Regions from separate parts of the Homo sapiens genome. Here regions 1 and 3 are each linked to region 2. Evidence: promoter capture Hi-C in 16 types of primary human blood cells and fetal thymus (Javierre and others, 2016). All regions are on one chromosome and are shown on one strand. Each heading gives the region's core, a stretch centred on a gene start or on the middle of the fragment in contact. The rest is flanking DNA. Distances are from core to core; before and after follow the strand shown.

Region 1 (4,738 bases), core at 1,112-3,611, 320 kb after region 2:
GAAGGTGAACTCAGGGAGTCAGTTTTTAAATCACCGACAGTAGGAAATCTTAAAAGTCAGATGGTCACAATGTCGATTGGATGATCCCAAAGGACTACGAGCTTCTCAGGAATGAGTTTAAGCAGAAGCAAAAGTAGCGCTTCACAGAGGTGCTGTTGCTTCAATGAAGGAACCAATGAATGGTGAGTGAATTAATGAATGAATGAAACTACCACTGAATACTACAGAGAATTTCACATGCTGGACAGAAGACTGGAGACCTCTGACGTTTGTCTCAGAAGTGAGTCTGTGAGACTGGCGCTATGCCAGACCCCAGGTAGGCAACGAGCCATGGGCCCTGTCCTCAAAGAGCCCAGTGAGAGATGCACGCAGCACACGCACAGAGGCAGAAAACACACTTTGAATCTCTCTAGCAACCCCAGACAGGTCATGCTGGAAGACATTCATAGCAGTGCAAGGAGAAGCGTCTTGAGAGAAGCTCAGCCCTGACTCCGCTCCCCATACCTTCTCAGCTTTCTCAAGGAGGTAACTTTCTAGAACCCCCTTTGGGCCACTTTCCCAGGGGTGACCCTTTGGCACACGTCTGTCCTGAGGTCGTGGCCTGTCTGGCAGCCTCCTCCTCAGGGTTAGGAGTGGGGTTGGCACCTGGCCATCCTGCAGAGGGCAGGGGTAGGTGCTTCAACAGCCCCAGCTCTGGGACATGTGCAGGTGCCCTAGTTCCAAGCCCCCACTGGCAGGTTCAGAAGACTGAGACACATGGCCAGGCCCTGACCCCTTGCCTGCAAGCTTCCTAAGAGCAGGGATCATCTCTTACCTGCCTCGGTCTCTCAGTGCTGGCACAGCATGGCTACTCAGTGTATGTGAGCTGAGTGGCAGAGTGCCAGGGCTGGCAGAGCTGCCATGAAAAGGGGTGCTGTGCTCAGGGAGATGGAGATGGGGTGCCTTCCTAGTAGGGTGCAGTAGCACTAGGCAGGGACTAGGAAGAGCATGCAAGTCCCCTGGGCCCCCTAAGGCCAGCACCGGGTCAGACTTGTCTTCTCTCCATGTTCAGGGTCTGCCCTGTCTCCAGCAGCCCCACTGTGGCTGGTGACCTGTCAGTGACTCACAGCCAGCTGTGGGCACAGAGTGGAGAAAGTGGCCTCCAGCTGAGCTCATGCACTAGCAATTAGCCCTCTACACCTCCTCACCATGGAGAGCCTCCCAGCTTCCACGCACGCACGTCCCAGGCTGCCCTTTCCCAACCGCAGCGTGGCTCTTGTGCTTATTTTAGCCTGATGAAGCCTCTTGAAATGTCAGAGCTGCAACCAACCAAGCTAGGGACCATCCAGTTGAATCCTTTCATTCAACCAGGGAGAAAATGGGGATTCAGAGAGGGAGTGAGAGATGCGCTTCAGGTCACACAGCTAATTGGTTGTGCAGCCAGAAATGAACTGCAGGCTTCCGGAGCCCAGATCCAGCTGTCCTTAACTCTAGGGGGCAATGTGCTTCAGGTAGCCCCTCACCAGACTTCTGGAGCCACTGGAGCCAGCACACATGTGTTTGAATCCTTCTTGGCCACTTGTCAGCTGTGAGACTATGGGCAAGTTACTCAGCATCTCCAGGCTTCTGTTTCTCCACCTGTAAAATGAGGATAACAGAGGCATGTCCCTCCCAGGTTGGTGTGAGGAATGAATGAGTTCATATATCTGAACTGCTAAAAGCAGTGCCAAGCACATAGCACACACTCAAAACACATTAGCTGACATTGTGTAGTCACCAAGACTTGGTCTCTGGTGTGGAAAGTTTAAAAATTCAGTTTTATGTGTTTGTCCATGGGTGAGCAGATTCTGGGACACCAGCCATATAACCAGACTTCTGGAAAACTGGTGGTGCTACTGTGGGGACAGGTGTTGCTGTCAGAAAGATCCACAGTAGACACAGAAACTGCCTTCCACTTTGGCAGTCACCATCTGAGACCCACAGATTGCAGACATCGAGGCAAAGGCAGTTTGGAGATTCTCAGGGCTATTCAAGCTCGGTGAGCCTGAAGAAGTGCCCTTCTGAACTCAAGAACTGGGCCTCTGTTTGTTAATCTGAAAAATAGGGGAAATCATAGCCTTGGGCTCACTGGGTGGTTGCAGGCATTAGATCAGGTGGGACAGTACCTGAAATAATCCTTTCTAGCCTTCCTCCTCCCTCTTTCTTTGTCACGACCCCCATCATCTGCTTGAGGCCAGTTCTCTCGATTCAGAGCTGCCTCCCCACTGGGCCCAGTTGGATAAACACTGACAAATTCTTCCCCTTCCAAGTTCCTCTTTTCCCAGTCACCAAATCTCTGATACCTCACACCAGATGAGTTATGGTCCCAGAACATGTACAAGATTGGGGTGTTCTCATTCCAACCCTGGAGATCCTTGTTGAATGGATGACTCAGTGAATCAACAACTGCAACGATTCCCAGAACTTCCTGAAAACTCACTCTGAGCTCTTAACATTGGGCAACACTCTGGTTTCCCCCAGAGCCCCACCACAAACCACCTCTGAGGAGAGGCGGCTCTGCAGTTGCCTCATCACTCTTTGCTGCCCTTCATCATGCTCATTTACACGAGAACTTTCTCTGCCCTTACTTCTCCACCACCCAGTCTGGACAACCAGGTGTGTTTGCATTCTCCCCTGCAGGAGGGCAACACAACCGTTCTGCTGTCCATAACCACTGCTGGCATGCCTAGTGGTCAGTCTTGAGCCCTCTCCATCTGCCCAAGTCACAACTGTCCCCCTACCCACCCCACCCAACTTCCTATGATTGCCTGCATAGGACAACTGACTCTTCTTGCTTGCTATTCCAGCTCCACTAATAGCCCATGACCCCCTCTTAGCCCCAGCCAGCCCCACCTGTAGAGTCCTGCTACGAGTGAGCCATTCCTCCCCAGGGGCATCACCTACTCGCTGCATTCTGTTCTTCAGGACAGACTGGAGCTCCCCAGACGAGAAGGCCTAAAGGGCTGGGAGCGGTGGCTCACTCCTGTAATCCCAGCATTTTGGAGGCCAAGGCGGGTGGATCACCTGAGGTCAGGAGTTCAAGACCAGCCTGGCCAACATGGCGAAACCCCGTCTCTACCAAAAAAATACAAAAATTAGCCAGGTGTATTGGTGGCGCCTGTAGTCCCAGCTACTCGGGTGGCTGAGGCGGGAGAATTGCTTGAACCCAGGAGGTGGAGGTTGCAGTGAGCCGAGATCACGCCACTGTACTCCAGCCTGGGCGACACAGCGAGACTCCATCTCAAAAAAAAGAAGGCCTGAGCCATTTGAGAGTTCATGCCCCTTTGAAGGCTGGGAATCTGAACACTAGTTCTGCCCTCAGGAGCCAGGATATGGCCTGGGCATCATCTCCAGCTTGGTTCCAGCTTATTCCCCACCATTGGCCCGCTGTCCAGCCCTCTGCATGTTTCTGGGCCACCAGTGGTCCCTACACGCCAACCAGAGGATTCCAAGAGTATCTCACCTGGAAGATCCTAAGGAATCACCCAGTCTAGTGGAGATGGTCTCTAGAGTGTTTGAAAATGTTTTGGAGTCTTTTTCATTGTAATAGTGATTAGAGATGTTCTGGCATTGGGTGCCCCAGGCCGGGCATGCTAGATCCCACAATGGACAAGGCAGTTTGCATAGTGAAGCATTGCACCCCTATTCTCCTTGGAGAAACACCACTTCTAGTCCAAAGTACTTCTTGTACAGTTGTAGAAACTAAGAGCCAGGGAGGATAAGGTACTGGCCCAAGACTAAGCAGCAAATTTGTCTCATAGGTATTCTAATAATGAGGATCCAAGAGTTCTGTTTCTTGGTGATTTCAATGGTATCTAGCCTCAAAATCCACTAGCAGTCACCAAGTTTGGGGCATGATGGGAGAGATGAAGACTAACGTGAGTCATTGGGAAGACTTTGTAGAGGTGTCATTTGGGCTAAGCTTTGAAGGATGACTTGTGGACCTGTCACTCTCGAAAGTGGGAGAGGGCACAACAGACAAAATGGTCAATAGTGGGGAAAGGACTAGAGCCTAGGAGTGAAGGTGGCTGAGGAATGAGCACAGGCTTTGGAAAGGAGAGCAGTGGAAGATGGAGGATGAAAGGAAGGTGACCTGAGGCTAGATCACAGAGGACTTTGCGTGTCAAATTGAGTATTGGGGTTGGTTCCAGGACCCCTGCGGATACCAAAATCTTGGAATGCTAAAGTTCCTTATATATAATAATGTAGTATTTGCATATAACCTATGCACATCCTCCTATACACTTTAAATCATCTCTAGATTACTTATAATATCTAATACAATGTAAATGCCATATCAATAGTTATTATGCTGTACTGTTTTTATTTGTATTATTCTTATTTTGCATTATTTTTTGTTGTTTTTTCCTCAAATATTTTTGATTTCCAGTTGGTTGAATCTACAGATATGAAACCCACAGATATAGAGGGCCAGCTGTATTTTGAGGCCAAGTTATCAGGTGCATACAAATGTAGAATTATTACATCTTCATGGAAAATTGAACATTATATCATTGTGAAATGTCTGTATATCTAGCAATGCTCTTTGCTTTAAAATCTGTTTAGTCTGATTTTAACATAGCTGCACTAGCTTTTTGTTTTTGTTAGTGTTACATGTTTTATCTTTGACTTTTACTTTATCTCTATATTTCAGGTACATCTATGTACAGGGTGTAGCTGGATTTGGATTCTTTTTTCTTTTTATGAGACAGGGTCTTAC
Region 2 (4,537 bases), core at 250-2,749:
AATGGTATGGAGATATGCCTATTTTGCAGCATGGGAACAAATGAAACATCCAAGTCCTCTCTATCATCTGCATGATTTCTTTAGTGTCTTTATTAATGGGTCTACTAATGGATAAGTTAATCAGGCAATATCCAGACTTTTTTTTCTAGCAAATGCTCCACTTCCCTTACGGGCTAAATTCTTCAAACATACTTACTATTTCCATCTCTTCATCAACTATCTCTTTCATTTCTCCAAACTGGATTCCTTGTTTGCCACTCTATTGAAATTGCTGTTTGAAAGCTACAAAGAGACCTCTTCTGAGACAAATCCAATGGCCCCTTCATTAGGCCCTTTTTAGACTTTTCTGCTCCCTCTGACAACAATGATCACTCTTTTCCACTGGATACTTCTCAGCTTTCGTTAAAGGATATGCTGCCCAATACTATGCCAGATCCTCAAAAAACCCCACATCTCTTCTTTTGCACATCACTCATCCTTTCCTGCTTCCAGGAGTACACAAAGGAAGGCTATGTCCTAAAAGACCGTTTCACTCTCCGCCAGATTCCATCCTTTTGTGAGCCTGCTCAAGACACATCCTCTTTATGAAAACTTCCAACTGGGTTTGCCGTTTCCAGTAACTGAGTCTCCCTGTACTTCGTCACGTAAAAGGCTAACTTGCATTTATTGGAGTGTGTATATACATAATCTCATTAGAACCTAAGCTTTTCAGAAAAAGGGCTGTATTTTCTGTCTCCAGAATTCCTTCACAGCTTGAAGCATAGCACTTGGCATTCAGTAAACTCTCAGTTGATGCTCGAATCAGGCCGCTTTCCCAGATTAAGATTAATGAAAAGCTGAACTACCATCCTGCATTTGCCTATGTCTCAGCTATTCAATGGCCTTTCCACTTTGGCCTCCCCCTCACAGGGAGACTAGCGGCCCGGGGCAGAGAACGCCGCCATCAGATCACAGCATTTTGAGAAGGGAAAGTGGAAAGGGAGGCTCTGGGAGGGTACCCAGATGGCCTTCCTTCGTGATCCAGAGACTCTTTAATAAAAGAGACTGCGATTCGGAGAACATGGAAGGAAGAATTAACATGCAAACCCTTTCCGAAAACTTTTCTGAGCCCTAGGACAGGTTTAGTGTCTGCTCCTGCTAAGTAAGCAGGCTTTTCTCTCCGTCCTCCTCCGCCTTGTGAAGATACTCACAAGGGGCAGGAGATCAAGATAAGGCACCAGGGTGTGGAAGGGGCTTTTAAGCACGCCTGGGGAGCCGGTACCTCCAAAGTTTCAGAATCGGACGAAGGAAAGGTAGGAAGGAGCGCACCGGGGCTGGCGGAAGCAGTCTCTGCCGCTCTTCTTAATTTCAGGAGGTTGCTGGGACGCATGACTCACCTTCCCTGAACCCGCGAGCTGGAAGCCGAGACCAGCTGGTCGCTGCCGGGCCCGCTAGTAGCCCACGGAGAAGCCGCCCACAGCCGGACACCAGAGCCTTGAGGGCCGCCATCTTCAAAAACCTACCCTGACCTCTCGTCCATTTCCGCTTCCGGAACGTAGCGCCCGCCGCCGCAGTGGTGGGGCAGGAACGGCGGGGCGGGGTTGTAGTTCGCTTGCTCCTGTCACATCATTTCTCTCACCTGTCCGCTTTGGGATACGAAGAGAGGCTTCTGCGTCAAGCCTATATTTCGTGTTAAGGATCTAGGGGAGGTCTTCTAGCTCCTGTCTGCCAATGCCTACAAGTCTTCAAGGTTGCATTCGTTTCCTGGAAGGCTTCCTTAGGAAAATCGCACGCAACACCCCACCTATGTCTTTAAAGCTTTCTCTTCACTGCACGTGAGCTGTGGACTTTTAGCTTCTGTGACTGGGGCTAGACCTCTACGGGAGAGGCTGAAATGGTTAGGAACTCTGGCTCTGGAGTATCGGATATCAGGCAGACCTGGGATAGAATTGATACCCCCTTCTTCCCTGACCACTGCCACACTGATCTTTGATTTGCATATACTTAGACCTCTCTCTAGCCCCAGGGCCTTGATACAAGCTATTTCCTTTGTCTGCTCTTTAGCTGTCTAGTTAGCTTCTGCTTATTTCTTAGAGCTCACCTCAAACCTTATTTCCACAGTTTTGCTTGACTGCCCATTCTCAGCACCAGATGCCTCTCCATCTTAGTGCTTGGGACAATTTCAGTTTTATGTTTGTTTTGTATGTGTCTTCTCACCAGACTGTAAGCTCCATGAAGTCAGGAACATTGTTTTCTGTTGACTCGCACATCTCCAGCACTTAGAATAGTTCCTGACACATAATAAGAGTACAATATATACTTGTTGAATGAATGAGTAGAATCTATTTTATAGGGCCTAGGGGAGGACTAGACCCTGAAGATTAGATGTGATAAAACATAAGTGATCGGCCGGGTGTGGTGGCTCATGCCTGTAATCCCAGCACTTTGGGAGGCTGAGGCGGGTGGATTACCTGAGGTCAGGAGTTCAAGACCAGCCTGACCAACATGGTGAAACCCTATCTACTAAAAATACAAAAATTAGGTGGGTGTGGTGGCGGGCACCTGTAATCCCAGACACTTGGGAGGCTGAGGCAGGAGAATCGCTTGAACCCAGGAGGCGGAGGTTGCAGTGAGCCAAGATCACACCATTGCACTCCAGCCTGGGCGACAAGAGTGAAACTCCGTCTCAAAAACAAAACAAAACAAAACAAAACAAAACAAAAGGGCTCAATAAACATAAGCTAGTTAATAGAGCAGTTATGGAGATGACTCTTTTCACAAGTTGGACTCACTTGTGTTGTAAGGAAGCTTATGGTACCAAAGAGAAAATACAACTGCCAGTTTTTCCTCTTTCAGATTTGTGAGACGTATAGGATGTTCCTCTGGAGCTCCACAGGAAAGGAAAATCATTCACAACTCAGTTCTTCCTATCCTTCTCTGATTCAAGATGGGAAAATCAGGCTTATTAAATGACATAGCATGTTTTCTGATGAGTAGGAGAGGAGCCCATCATCCAGTTGGGACCGTCACCCTAATAGGAGGATGCAGAGCAGCTGCTGTATGGAAAATGTGAGTGGCATCACCATAGACAGGGAGAACAGGAGAAATGCAGCATTGGGTTACGTTAAAACATCTCATTTAGCAAAGGTAAACCCGGTGAAGGGGAAACTTAAAAGAAAAGTCAATCAAGGTGGTAGAGACTGACACATGGATTAGGAGTGAAGCAGAGGGTCTTAGTGAGGTGTAGGTCTAGGTGTCCCAGCCAGGATCAAGAAAGCTTTGACTCTCCCTATAGCTTCCAAGTTTGTTCTGCATAGATGACCTTGAGCTTATAGATGTATAGATGACCTTTTGTGTTTGTACTACATCCTCTGTTTCTTCACCCATTTCCAACTTCCAGGAATCCAGTAGAGACAAGGGCAGCAACAGAGCCCCACCCAGGGCTTGCTTTGGACACAGTGAGCTAAAGCATTCGAGTGCCAACCCTCTTCTCATTATCTTATCTTAACTTATCATAAACAAATTTTATTTTAAAAAACAACTATGACAGGTAACATGTGATCATTGTAGAAAAATGAAACAATAAATAAAGTAAAAAGAAAATAAATGTCATCTAAAATCCAGAGATAAGCATTGTTTACATTTAGCAAGATGAAATAATACTGTGGATATTCTTTGCCTTATAATATCTTATTTTTCTGAATCCATTTATGATTAGTCCCTACAATTCTGTGAGACCAGGTTTGGATCAGGAGACTAGCTTTAAAAAACAACACATCTTTTAATTAAAGTATTACCTGTGTAAGAAAAATACACAGGCTGGGTACAATGGCTCACGCCTGTAATCCCAGCACTTTGGGAGGCCGAGGCAGGTGGATCACTTAAGGTCAGGAGTTCGAGACCAGCCTGGCCAACATGGTGAAACCTCATCTCTGCTAAAAATACAAAAATTAGCTGGGCGTGGTAGGCTCCTGTAATCTCAGTTCCTCAGGAGGCTGAGGCAGGAGAATCACCTGAACCCTGCAGGTGGAGGTTGCGGTGAGCCGAGATCACGCCATTGCACTCCAGCCTGGGCAACAGAGTGAGACTGTCTCAAAAAAAAAAACAAAAAACCCAAACAAACAAACAAACAAAAAACAACAAAACACACAAATCATCAGTGTACTGCTTGATGAATTTTCGCAAAGGGACACACTACCCATACTGGAGTGGAGTGGCATGTTCAAGCAGAACTTGACTGGCACTCTAGAACACCCCATTGTGTCCCCTTCCAGACACTACCCCGCAAGGATAATCATTATCCTGACTTTTAGCACAATACATTACTTTTCCCTGCATTTGACCTTTATATAATATTCCACTGTGAATATACTATATTTTAAAAAATCACTTTTTTTTCTGTTGATAGAATTTAGATACTTGCCACTTGGGACTACTACAAAGAGTGCTGTAACGTTCTTCTACGTGACTCTTGGTGAACACAAGAACAAACTTCTTTGGGGCCTATCTCGCGGTAGAACTGTTAGGTTGCAGGGTATGCCTATGCTCAGCTTTAGTA
Region 3 (4,409 bases), core at 453-2,952, 300 kb after region 2:
AGCATGCTGAGGAAGGGGCTGTGTGTTCCCCTCAGACTGGGGCTCCCTGAGGATGGGGCCAAGTCTCTCCTCAGACTGGGGTTCCCTAAGGATGGGGCTGCGTCTCCCCTCAGACTGGAGATCCCTGAGGACAGGCCATGTCTCCCTTCTGAGACTGAGGCTCCGTTTGCTCTCAGCCCCTAGGCTCTCCAGCTGTACTCCTGTCTCACGGAACAACCACCCAAGAGAACAGAGTGATAGGGTCTGCTGAGCAGAAGTGCACAGGGCAGGTTGCGGGTACTCCTGAGGAGGGACGTGCTGATAAAGGGTAATCTCCCTGAGCACTTGGCTCAGGATAGCAAAGGCTGCAATCAGAGGGTTCTGTTTCGAGCTTCCAGCCAACTGTCTCTATCAAGTGCCTGCTGTGTGCAAACCCACTGACAGGTACTTTGGGAGGACCAAGAGGACTTATGCATGGTGTTTGAGCTCTTGGGAGAGAGGCTGATGCCTGGTAGGGGATGCACAGACACTCAGGGCTCCTGGGAGAAGAAAGGGAGTGAGTTCCTCAGTCAGGCAGCCTTCTCAAAGGAGACCCTGTTAGGGTCCAGTTTAGGGCAGCGGTCAGTGGCTTTGGAGCTTTGGGCCTGGGGGAGCTCCTGAAGACCCTTTTCCCATCCTGCCACCTCTCCCCCTCCCATGCTTATCTGGCAACCTTGCTCCATGTTTTCCCTGGAACATGTTCTTCCTGCTCCCCTCAGCCCCTACTCAAGGTTAAGCCCTCTCTTTTGCTTCTGCCCAGCAAGTCCAAGGCTGGGTACTAGGGCGCAGGGGAAGGAGCTTGCTCAAGAGCCCGTGGAGGGCCCCTTGGGAGCCACCTCCTGGCTCCTGAGCCTAGGAGTGTCTAGGAGCATCTTACAAGAAGTGTAGATGATGAGGTGTTCTAGAGAAGGAAGGGGGAGCCCAGGAGGAAGCTGTCTCTTCCATCTTCTGCCTCCATGCCCAAATCCTTTAGAGGGAGCAGGTTCTGTAACCCATCCAGCAGTGGGCTCTCACCAAATTGTTCCATTTCCTCTCCCCTCTTAGTAAGGTGAAACCAACTCATTCTCTTCTCAGCCCTGCCCTGGGTTCTGGAGCAATGAGGAACTGGGGATCCTCAGTTGGGGCTCCCCACTCAGCCCAGCAGGGCAGAATGGGCCCTGAGGGGCAATGATGATAGGGAAGGTGAATGTGACCCATCCTCACAGATCCCCAGTCCAAGGGGAGACGCAGCCCCATCCTCAGGGAGCCCCAGTCTGAGGGGAGACACAGACCCATCCTCAGTGAGCCTCAGTCTGAGGGAGACACAGCCCTGTTCTCATGGGGCCCCAGACTGAGGGGAGACTCAGCTCTGCCCCTTCAGGGCTGGTCTGACTTGACCTTCAACGTCTCAATCCCTATTCAGGGAGTGATGACCAAGAGGTCACCTGAGCCACCTCCTGTCTTAAGTCAGGGTCCTTTCACTCACCCCATGAACTGAGGACAGAACAGGCATGGGACAGGAAGGAGGCCTAGAGACCCCTGATCTAACTGGCCACTGCTTGGCAGGCCCCTTTGTTGTCACCTGTGGGTCCCCAGACTCTCCCAACATCCTGCGAAATAGCATTTCTCTCCATTTAGGAGTGACCCCCGGGAATGGCCTTGCCCTGTCCCGTCAACCCCTTCCCTTGCCCCAGACACTGATAGTGGCTGAAAAGCAGGCCCATGGGGTGAGGGAGTAAGGGAATCCTGATAAGCTGACCTTCCTCAGCTCCTGTTTTGGCTGAGGCAGGCTGGTGGGCTGTTTGGTCTGGTGGGCCCATGGTGGAGAGGGTCCCCTGTGAGGTAGGGGGTCGCAGGCTCAAGGTCTCACTGGGTTGAGACAGCCCATACCTTGACAGGAAGGCCAGGCATGAGAGCCCTGCTGAGGTTCCTTCCGCCAGGACATGGCCCCTCTCTGGCCCATCAGGACATCCACCTCACTCCATGGTCACCACCCCAGGAGATAAGGGGCTCCCCTGAGCCTCCCTCACAGCTTCTAGCACCCCACAGGGTCCCTCGGGTCCCCGTCACTCTCCTGTCCAGAAACCTTGCCCCAGCAAGGAAAAGAGGAGAAGGTAAGAGTTGCGTCCCCACAGGAAACTGAGGCACAGAGACTGGCAGAGACCTCCCCAAACCCCATCTGCCCACTCCTCAATGGTAGTGTGGTAGAGTGATAAAAATCTGGGGGACCGATTGGGGGAATTGAACATGAGCTGCATATTAGATATTGCAAACTGTTTTGTTCAATGTAAGAATGGCATGCTGGTTTATATAGAAAATTTGGTTTATTTTTTAGAGATGCATTCTTAAATGAGTAGAGGTGACATGCTATATGTCTATAATTTACTTTTTAATATTTCAGCACAGAAAAGATGAAGCAAATCTGGCAAACAAAATGTTCATTATGCTATTCTGGTAATCGGTACTTGTAGTTTCGTTGTACTGCTCTCTCCATTTGTCTGAATGTTTAAAATTTCTCATTAAAAAAAGACAAATGCTGTTCTAACCTAGGTTTGAATACCAATTCGACTTCTTTGCTGTGTGACCTTAGGCAAGTCACTTAACCTCTCTGGGCCCCATTCTCTTTAAACACCACTGTTGTGATGTTTAAACACAGTAATGGATGGGGTGCACTAGTACAGTGCCTCAGACATAGTAAGTGCTCAGTTAAAAATGGTTGTTTTTTGTAGCCTGGGAAAGTAGCTCATGTCTGTAATCCCAGCACTTTAGGAAGCCAAGGCAGGAGGATCTCTTGAAGCCAGGAGTTTGAGATCAGCCTAGGCAACATAGCAAGACCCCATTTCTACAAAAGATAAAAAATTAAAATAATAGAAAAGGGTCATTATTTGTGAAATGAATGGAAAAGGTGTCTGTGCCTGTGTGTGTGTGTGTGTGTGTGTGTGTGTGTGTGTGTGTGTGTGTTAGAAGGAGTGTCTTCTCAAACTCTCAGCCTCAGTTTCTCAGCCCTCAGGAAGCAGTAGTTAATTACTTGGGTCAACAGCCACACCCTCAGTCCCTACTCCATGTCACGGGCTGTGATGGGTGCTGGCAAAGGGGAAGGATTTGGGGTGCAGGGCCCCTCTTCACAGGACCAGTGGACACTGGTTCCTTAGAAGGAACACTGAAGTTAGTGGAGCCCCTCCTCATTTTGCATCCAGCCTAGGAACAGAGCAACTCCGTCTGGCCACGTGCAGTCGCCAGCTTTGGGGACAGGCAGAGCTGAGGGGCTGCCCCCTCAACACCCCACACAAAGGAGCAGAGCAGTGAAAGCCCCGTCCCGAGGACAAGGGCAGTGGGGCATGTGCCGGTAACGGGAGAAGGCCAGCCCTTTCTTATTTTGGGAGGCAGGAGGCAGCAGGTGGCTGGCTGGTGCTGGGACATGTGAACCCTCCTGTCGGGGGCCATGTGGTCAGCAGCAGGGCAGCCTGGCAGTGCCGGGCTCAGCCTAGGCCCCACATGAGCCCATCAGCCAGACACATTTGTGGCCACAGAGGGAGGGAGATCCAGTTTCTCCACAAGGGCATCCTCTGTAGCACAGCTTGGAAGTGGGGGAAAGGACACCTGGCACCTGCCCCACCCCCATATTCCCCAAGGAAGCTGACTCCAGGGACCTGAGTGTTCGGAGGAGCTCCCAGTCTGAGTGGGGAGATGCAATCTTTATACCCCAGGAGTTTCTAATCCATGAGAGACACAGCCTCTGCCCTGAGGCAGCCCTCAGTCTGAGGGAGAAAACACAGACCTGGCATCAGAGAGCTCCAAATCTGAGTGGAGAGGCCCATTCTGAGGAGGGGGTTGGCCACAGTGAGGGCATGGGGGCTGCAGGGGCTGGAGCACTCCATTAGGGCTGGTGGAAGCCACAATGTTGCAGGTTCCTGCGGGAGCCAAGTTATTTTGGGTGGGCAGGAGGAGCAGGCGACTTTCCAGATTAAAATAGCTTTCCCTGGGTGTCATTCCTGAGACGTGTTCAGATCCCAGCAGCATGCTCGTCACACGGTTATGTTCCTCCTGTCCCTCCCAGTCGGGTGGGCAGGGCCAGGTTGGCAGTCCTGCCCAGGCTGGAGGAGGTAGGAAAGTAGAGATGAGCCTTGCTTCCTAATCAGGGCAGCACGGAAATGTGAATCCAGTCTCCGGGGCCACTGAAAGCTGCCCACCACTTGCCCAACTCCTTCTAAAGGGCCTGCAGTTCTAGGAACAGGACACAGTCTGAGCACTGCACGGTAGCGCTCACCCCCTCTTTCCCCTTCGCCATTCCTGCAGCTCTTGCCTTCTTCCATGGGCCACCAGCTCCAGCTATCTCTGATCCCTGTCCCCCATGAACTCTCTGCCTTTCCTGCCCTCCCCCACCCACCACACAGAGGAATCCAGATGCCTTG

Evidence for each region. Contacts are between HindIII fragments. The CHiCAGO score rates a contact against its expected background, and 5 or more counts as called.
Region 1: a fragment that was not itself captured here is called in contact with the fragment with the promoter of MRPS18A in region 2 in 5 of 17 cell types (erythroblasts, monocytes, M0 macrophages and 2 more); the score reaches 10.6 in erythroblasts.
Region 3: a fragment that was not itself captured here is called in contact with the fragment with the promoter of MRPS18A in region 2 in 1 of 17 cell types (erythroblasts); the score reaches 6.2 in erythroblasts.

What each region holds. Positions count from the first base shown.
Region 1 is chr6:44,009,840-44,014,577 of GRCh38, forward strand. All of the region lies in intron 1 of SCIRT (stem cell inhibitory RNA transcript), which reads right to left. Among named protein-coding and RNA genes, the nearest start is that of LINC03040, 12 kb to the left of the region's middle. RefSeq lists an enhancer at 393-1,592 and a silencer at 683-881. The HindIII fragment of the contact is 3,154 bases long and covers 785-3,938 here.
Region 2 is chr6:43,686,292-43,690,828 of GRCh38, forward strand. It overlaps MRPS18A (mitochondrial ribosomal protein S18A), which reads right to left and starts at 1,500. Exons shown (of 6, transcript NM_018135.4): 1 at 1,377-1,500. The coding sequence starts at 1,488. It overlaps LOC124901320 (a long non-coding RNA gene), which reads left to right and starts at 2,671. Exons shown (of 2, transcript XR_007059586.1): 1 at 2,671-3,048; 2 at 3,380-3,602. RefSeq lists enhancers at 1,254-1,313, 1,259-1,870. The HindIII fragment of the contact is 1,093 bases long and covers 703-1,795 here.
Region 3 is chr6:43,986,373-43,990,781 of GRCh38, forward strand. No RefSeq gene overlaps it. Among named protein-coding and RNA genes, the nearest start is that of LINC03040, 12 kb to the right of the region's middle. RefSeq lists an enhancer at 3,584-4,093. The HindIII fragment of the contact is 5,894 bases long and covers 1-4,409 here.